Regions from separate parts of the Homo sapiens genome. Here region 1 is linked to region 2. The links are contacts of gene promoters, found by promoter capture Hi-C in blood cells and fetal thymus (Javierre and others, 2016). All regions are on one chromosome and are shown on one strand. The core of a region is centred on a gene start or on the middle of the fragment in contact, and the rest is flanking DNA. Distances in the headings are between cores, read along the strand shown.

Region 1 (3,953 bases), core at 400-2,899, 52 kb before region 2:
CATGGCTTTCTCCTATCTCCTGTTTCTGAGGTCAGGAGCTGAAATGACACAATTTCCTTCAGGAGCCCACTCTGGCATCTGCAGTTGCACACATGGCACCTGGCTCTCTCTCCCTCTGGGAATCCTCGCCCCGATCCTGGCAGCAGGGAGAGCCCCATTGGGCCCTCCACCTGCTCACGTGGCAGGCAGCCCACACATCCTGCCTGGAAATGCCCCCACAGTGATGCTTTCCTGATCTGGTTTACATCCACCGATCCTGGGTTTGCTTCTTGGTCCCATCCTCCAAGACAATTCCTAGGAGCTTTGAAGAGAAAGGAAGGTCTATGTATATGAGAGGTGATGCCTGCTCTTAATGCCCTGCTATCAGGCCACATTTGGAGGCACAGGTTTTATCAGTTTTGGCCAGACTGCTGTCCACCCAACATAATCAGCACGTACATGACTGAAGGCAGAGCTCTGCTCTAGGGCAACATGTTTTGGGTCCGAGGTAAATAGCAGATACAGAGGTGCTGAGGGGATCACATGAAGTCATGCTGCTGAAGTTACTGTTGCCCTGTACAAAGTCCTTTTTCATTTTTATAAGGACCCCAAGGCACAGCTTTGTTTTAGTAGTGGCTTATATAATTGACTCCCCTCTTTGCCTTGGCTGCTGGAAAGCTTAGCACCAAACCTGAAGGTCACCTAGGGCATAGAATAAACCTGAATGAATTTTTATAATAATCTTAATCACTGGTCCATTTTATATTCTTACCTTTCATTTTTCACTTCTACCCCCAACCCATCTACCTCTAATGTATATTTCCTTGCCAGCCACCTTAAGCCCTTCCTAAATCAAGGAATCGGCAAACATAAAATAAGGTAAACAAACATAAAAATGGGGTTTTATGGAAAACTGAAACAGATCTCTTTCACACCGTTGCTTGGAAGATAAATTTCTAGAGAGCAATAACTACTAAATATTACAATGCATATATTCATGACACAGAAATATCAATTCCAGAAATTTATCCTACAGTCATACTCATATAAGTGTGCAATATATGTTTGATTGCAGCTTGTTTATAATAGAAAAAAGAAAAAGAAATAAGGTAAGTGTACAGGAATGGCTAAACACAGCATGTTGCATGTATACAAGGCAACACTATTCGGCCATTCCGAAATGCAAGATTAATATACATGTCCTAACATCAAGGATGCCTTCAATGTATTAAGTAAAACACAAAGACATTTGTGATTAGGGGTACAAACAAAAATTGTCATCCTTAGCATAGAGGCTTTCTCATAATTCAAGGCAGTATTAAGTAACTAACAGATATGAGAAAGCAAAATTGGAGAAGCTGAGGGAGCTATATTCTCTGAATTAGCACAAGTACAGAGCAAGAGTGTGGGGAAGGCAGGTAGAGCCGAGGAAAGATGAGGGGCTGGCCCCCAAGAGAAAGGCTTTGGCAGTTGAGTATTGTATGTTGGGAATCTTGTGATGTTTTGTCTTCACGTGGTGAGTTTTCTTTTCACTCTACCCCCAAAACCCTCAGTAAAACCTACCTTATTTTCCAATACTTTTGCAGCTGGATTTATTTTGGAGGGAACTGATAAAGTACTACATGTGACCTAAAGGCCAGAAAGGGCCAAGGAGAGAGAGACTGCCCAGAGTGACCAGCCCCATTCGGGTCACCAACCGATAATTAGGTCCCATGCAGAATTAGTTCTGGACATATTGGGAATGGAATGTTGAAGAATAGGGAAAGAGTGGGGGAAAAAGAACAAAAAGCCAGATCAACCCTATGTGAAAGGATGTTTTGGCTTAGTAGATACTAAGGTTTCTTTTCATACCTAGATAACAGAGATTTATGAAAAAGGTGAAAGGATCACAGGAGAGAAGATAAGATGTCAGAGTGTCCACAATTAAACATGTGACAGATATATGAAGTACTCGTTCTGACTACATTAGTTGTTACAGGCATATCAGCATTATCTAAGAAAAGAAAAAAGACGTTTTCTTCATTCAACATTCCCCTCACTGCCCACTGGACCTCTATGCAACTCGGCTTTTTGCTCTCACACAGAACTGCCCTGACTGTTTCTATGAGCGGCTCTCTCTCTTCTGTAACTGAGCACCTCTTTTGGAGCCACTGCTTTTATGTACTGTGTGACCAGCCCAGTGAGGAACTACATGGAGCAGGCCTCATGGATGGGCTTCTGGGGCTCTCAGATCCCTGGAATGTTATGCAAACTATTGTGTACATACATTTTCTGGAGCAAGGGCTCTGGCTGAACTATCAATGGGAAGACTCCACTCCAGATGTCAAGAACCTTGGATTTAGAAGTCTGATGTGGAACTCCCCTAAGAAAAATCCTATTATTGAAAACTTTTGTTACCTCTATCATATTTAGATATGTATATACATGTTTATTTCTCAAGGTAGGTGTTGCACACGGACTTTCCTTAATTTAATATGATGTTGTAATAACCTGGGGCTTTATCAGTCCTATTTATGTTTCAACAGTACAGTCATTCTGAGGGGCTTTTGTTTAGGTTGCTGACTCTACTTGTTAGCCCAGAATTTACTTCCTCAACCAGACTGCGGCTCTTTAGGACATGGACCACATGTTTCTGTGTTTTTGTATTTCTAAGGTCTAGCACAAAGCTTGGCAAACATCTGGTACTTAACAAATAATAAGAGCTCACAATAACTGGGTATTCAGAGTATGTCACACACTGAGGTGTTTGTGATTTCATTCCTTATTTGATAGGTGAGGAAAACGAAGTCTTAAATGCAGATCCATTTTGGGAAGACTGTAAACCCTCGATGTCAACCACTCTATATAAATCTTGTTAAGGGAATGAATGCTGAATGATGGTTAACACTTTCCATTATGTAGGTAAAGACACTAGGTATCAGCATGGGGGCAGGGCAGCTGCATCAGGAACTCAGGTTACCTGTCCTCCATTTAAGTGTGTTTTTCCTTAGAGTTTTCTAATTTTGAAATGGTCTTTATTCCTTATTAGAAATGAAAGTGAGGCCAGGCGCAGTGGCTCACGCCTGTAATCCCAGCACTCTGAGAGGCTGAGGCGGGCAGATCACCTGAGATCAGGAGTTTGAGACCAGCCTGACCAACATGGAGAAACCCTGTCTCTACTAAAAATACAAAATTAGTCAGGTTTGGTGGTGCATGCCTGTAATCCCAGCTACTCGGGAGGCTGAGGCAGGAGAACCGCTTGAACCCGGGAGGTGGAGGTTGAGGTGAGCCGAGATTGCACCATTGCACTCCAGCCTGGGCAACAAGAGCCAAACTCCATCTCAAAAAAAAAAAAAAAAAAAAAAAGAAATGAAAGTGAAATCCTGTATACTAATTGAGCCTATTTCACCTGTCTCTGATTCCAGAACTCTTGTGTATAACAATCTTGCTCATTAGTGGATCAAACTTCTTACTGACACAGAGATGTCACCACGAACATCTATAAGGAAAGCAAAATCTTTCCTCTTCTGCGCACCTTCTCTGTTGGGGATGCCAAACTCAAATGCCTGCAGAGACTAGTAGATCCTGGAAGTGACAAGTGGGCTGGGTGTGAATGTGAACTGGGGCAGCCATGTGGGAGCCCTAATCCATTATGAAGGGAATAGCCACTCCTTGGCCCAGGGTGACTAGATCTTTAGAATTTTAAGAGAAGCCAGAAACACAGATTTTATGTAGAATCTCTTGAGTTTGAGATGTTGATGATTCATTCCTTTTTTTTTTTTTTGAGATGGAGTCTCACTCTGTTGCCAGGCTGGAGTGCAGTGGCGCAATCTTGGCTCACTGCAATCTCTGCCTCCCGGGTTCAAGTGATTCCCCTGCCTCAGCCTCCTGAATAGCTGGGACTACAGGTGCGCACCACCAGGCTCGGCTAATTTTTTGTATTTTAGTAGAGACAGGGTTTCACCATATTGGCCAGGATCGTCTCAATCTCCTGA
Region 2 (4,086 bases), core at 727-3,226:
CAAAATGATTCAGTTTTAATGCATTATTTTAACAAGCAAAAGCAAACAGTTTCTGATATACATGCCATACTGCAAAGCTGTAAACCCGTGTTGCATGGTGATGTGACAAGCACCACATTTCTGGAGGGATTTTTTTTTCTCTCCTACAAGCTCCCCCTCCCCAAGCCGTGGCTATAATTATTTCACAAAATGCAGTTTGCCATTTCTAGAGACAAACACTTCCTTCTCCCTCACCAAAACTTCAAGTTCAGGCCAAATATTGAATGAAAATAGAACTTGAGAGGCAGGCTTTGTTTGTAGCATGTTGTTTCTGCTAAGAGTTGCCCCCTACCCAGGCTCCACCCCAGTGGTCGGACTGAAGTGTACATGTTATGTTTTAACAGATGGGCCGGCTGGCGGCTGCTGGGCTGTAAAACAGGAACGCGGATTCTGCACTGAGTGGTATTGAACTGAACGCTCGTAAAGTTCATGGACATACTCTGACCCAGACAGACCAGGCAGATGCAGACATGCTTACGCATACACACTCACTAACACCCCACAGCTCAGAGGATCCATCTCTGTGACCCAAGGGAAGTTCAAGGCTGAATTTCCCCTTCATATATTTACCTCATTCACCTTTTAATTTTATATATACACACACTCACACATATACACGTATGTATGTGTGTATATGCGCATCTACATCTTCATATACACATACAGAACTATATATCTCAACATTTTCATGTATTTTCAAAGGTCTAAACATCCCCAAATTCTGGACCTGTTTCTGTCTAGTATTTTCAAAAGCTCTTATTCATGTCAAATAAGAATTGTAAGAAAATATCGTATTGAATTCTGTTTATTCCGCACATAATATAAACTACATGCATGTAGTTGGTCTCAGAAAAACAAGCTGCTTTTACCCCCTTACCATTAAGGGGGGAAAACAATCTAACCCAGACCGAGTCACAAACGGAGTGTCAGGTTTAACCTTGAGTTCTCTGCTGTCAATTCCTGACTCAACTTCATCACTTAAACACGCAGGTGCTCAAACAAACACCAACCGACCAGGCTGGCAATCCCTTTCGCAGCCTCTAGGATTCTCCAAGGCACTGGGCACCAGAACCGACAGCAGCTCCCGCCTGGTCCTAACGAAGTCCTTCGGACACCCCTTGCGGGTGGATGTGGAGGTCCGAGCACCTCAGGAGGGTCATGGATTCAAGTGCTAATAGAAAGCAATTACTTTAGAAAGTTCAAAGCCCAGCAGTGCTCTCAATTCCTCTCAGTAGCTGCAGAGCACTGAAGCCCCCGCTACAGAACCCGGCTGGTACTCCAGTTCTCTGGCGCTGAGACCCACCTTGAGCCCGATGAGCGCTCGCTCAGCCTTGAGATCCAGACGCGGACGCCGGGTCTTACCGTACCGCACAGCGCGGGTAATTTTTCAGGAACCGCGGTCCGCACGCCGCGGGCGCGGAGGCCGCCCCAGCGCTCCATGTCGTTGCCGCAGAGGGGCAGGGGACGCGTCCCGGCCCCACCTACCCATGTCAATTACGCCAAGTTGGTGCGGACTGGAACCGCGTCCCGGGCGGAGTTGGGATGCTTTGACAAGAAGAAGTTCGGGAGTGGGGATATTGGCACGGAGTAAATCCCGCCCAGCCCTGACCTCCCCACAGCGGTCACGCTCGGACGAACGGACCGCCGAGCGCCAGGACGCGTCCCGTCCCCTCTCGCCGCCGCCGAACCGCGCCGAGAGGAGCCGCTAGCCCGGCGCGCGGCCACTCACCGTCCTCGCCGAGTCCCGATAGCAAACCGACGTCCCTGCTGCGGTTCTAAGTGCCAAGTTGCCCCCAGTCGGTGGCTGCTCACGGCCCAGTGGACCAGGGCACATTGGTTCCGGCGGGCACCTCAGGGGGAGTGCGGCAAGCCTGGCGGCCGCCGCGGCCACACAGTCGCCCACAGCGCGCTGACAATTCACGGACCTGCTCAACGAGTGAGGCGGAAAGCAGGGCTAAGCCGACCAGGCTCTGGAGGGGAGGCGGGGCTGCCGCTAGGGGCGGAGCCAGCCCCGGGGCGTCATCAGCCCATGACTGGCGGAGCCGACAGCCAGTCGTGGTGGCGCTGGGACCGCCCCGTAACCGCCGTCCAGTCGCCTGCGGCCGAGGGCAGGCTGGCGGGACGCGCCGGCGGCGGGGAAGTTGGTTATTGCGAAGTGCCGTGGCTGCCGGCGGGCGCTGCGGGACTCTCTGCAATGGGACCCGAGCAGCTCTAGAGGGAGGCGGCGGCCCCAGAAGGCCGTTGGCTGAGAGAGACCAGGAGCCCTCGGAGCCGCCGCGCGCATAGCGCTGTGGAGCAAGAAGCCAACCGCAGCGCGGGTCGACACGCCAGTATCTGGCACCGGCAGGAGGCGCGGAACTTAGCTGCCCCATCGGAACCCCGCCCGGAGGAAGCTGAGGGCCGAGAAAGGATGAATTCCGGACCGGGTCGCCCAGCCACAAGTGGAAACCTGGGCTCTCTGGAAAACGTTCTGATCTCGATCTGGCTATCTCTGAAACAAAACTCCAGCCCCGCAAACCTCCCAAAGTTCAGTACACGTCCCCGTCCTCACCCCTGCCCTCCGGGCCACCTGCAGCGGGGGACTTACCGGCGCCTCGGGTCTCCTCCTCCCGACCCAGCGCGTCGCGGACACAGCTGGCGGCCAACAGGAGGCTTGGGCGCTCGACGGCGCCGGAACCTGTGAGACCGTCGCTCTGGGCGGGCTGCCGTGCGGGGTGGCATCCTCTGCGGTGACTTCTGCTGTCTTTTGGGTCCGCCAGGATTCCAAAATCCCAGGCGGGTCGCTAGAATTATCCATCTTCGTGGACAGGAAGCCCCAGAACGAACCACATCTGTCCCACTCTGCTTCCGCCCTCCTTCCCCTTCGCAAGCTCCTGGCTGGGATGGAGACATCGGACGAGCTCGGAGATCCCGACCTCTCAGGGGTCACTCGCAGCCGAACAGCCTGGAATATGGCCTTGTGGGCCCTTCCCGCCCAACCCCCTAGGACCCCACTGCTCATCTTGTCAACCAGTTTCTGAGCCCCTACCCTGGCTGCAGCACGTGCTCGCACAGGCGCGCTGAGCTACTAACATAGAATCAAAAGCAGGGAGTTGGGTGTTCTTGCTTTCCCGCTGAAACCTAGAATGTAAACAAGCCCTAGACCGTCAGCTGTGGGTGGGTAGGGGCCTCTCCCTGCCTAGAACTGCTCTTGCCATGGGTAGGCACCTAACCCGTATTAGTAAGAATGAAGGAATGCATGCTCATAACAAGAAAGGGGTCAACCTGCTGCCCTGATACTCACCTTCACCACTTACGTCTTGCTTCCAGCGCAAGCCCACTTCAGACCATTGCCTCATTCAGGTCCCAGAAGTCCTAAGGGTTTTAGTCTCTCAGTATGGGCAATTATTCACATGTAAGGGAGCTGCAAGGTGTTATTTCAATGCCATCTGGCCTCTATAAGGTCTTGCATCATAGCTGACCTCTCATGAGAAGGTTCTGATGAGGTCACCAGGGAGAAGGAATGTAAAGGGCTGGTGGCTGAAAAGGAGTGAAATGGCCCCTCTTAGGTGAGCTCTGGCCTGGTTTGAGTTTCAATTCTGTCTCCTCAGCTCCATTTCTCAATGGGAAAAGGTCCATAGGAAGGTTGTCAGAAGGGCAGGAGACTAGGGCAGGGATAGCCCTTTGCAGACCCTGAAAAATTGCTCAGTAATGCAAACATTGTCCATATTTAAGTTCTTTCTTTTCTTTTCTTTTTTTTTTGAGGCAGAGTCTCACTCTGTCGCCCAGGCTGGAGTGCTATGGCTTGGCTCACTGCAAGCTCCGCCTCCTGGGTTCACGCCATTCTCCTGCCTCAGCCTCCCAAGTAGCTGGGACTACAGGCGCCCGCCACTACGCCCGGCTAATTTTTCGTATTTTCAGTAGAGACGGGGTTTCACCGTGTTAATCAGGATGGTCTCGATCTCCTGACCTTGTGATCCGCCCGCCTCGGCCTCCCAAAGTGCTGGGATTAGAGGCGTGAGCCACTGCGCCCAGCCTTAAGTTCTTTATTTTCTATCTTGTGGACCA

The links. Contacts are between HindIII fragments. The CHiCAGO score rates a contact against its expected background, and 5 or more counts as called.
Region 1: a contact is called between a fragment that was not itself captured here and the fragment with the promoter of MARCHF3 in region 2, in 4 of 17 cell types (naive B cells, total B cells, erythroblasts and 1 more). The highest score is 10.7, in naive B cells.

Annotation. Positions count from the first base shown.
Region 1 is chr5:126,976,648-126,980,600 of GRCh38, forward strand. All of the region lies in intron 1 of MARCHF3 (membrane associated ring-CH-type finger 3), which reads right to left. Among named protein-coding and RNA genes, the nearest start is that of MARCHF3, 52 kb to the right of the region's middle. The HindIII fragment of the contact is 1,988 bases long and covers 656-2,643 here.
Region 2 is chr5:127,028,582-127,032,667 of GRCh38, forward strand. It overlaps MARCHF3 (membrane associated ring-CH-type finger 3), which reads right to left and starts at 1,977. Exons shown (of 5, transcript NM_178450.5): 1 at 1,769-1,977. It overlaps LOC105379163 (a long non-coding RNA gene), which reads left to right and starts at 2,762. Exons shown (of 2, transcript XR_007058920.1): 1 at 2,762-4,086. RefSeq lists a silencer at 1,939-2,318 and an enhancer at 2,315-2,859. The HindIII fragment of the contact is 7,560 bases long and covers 1-4,086 here.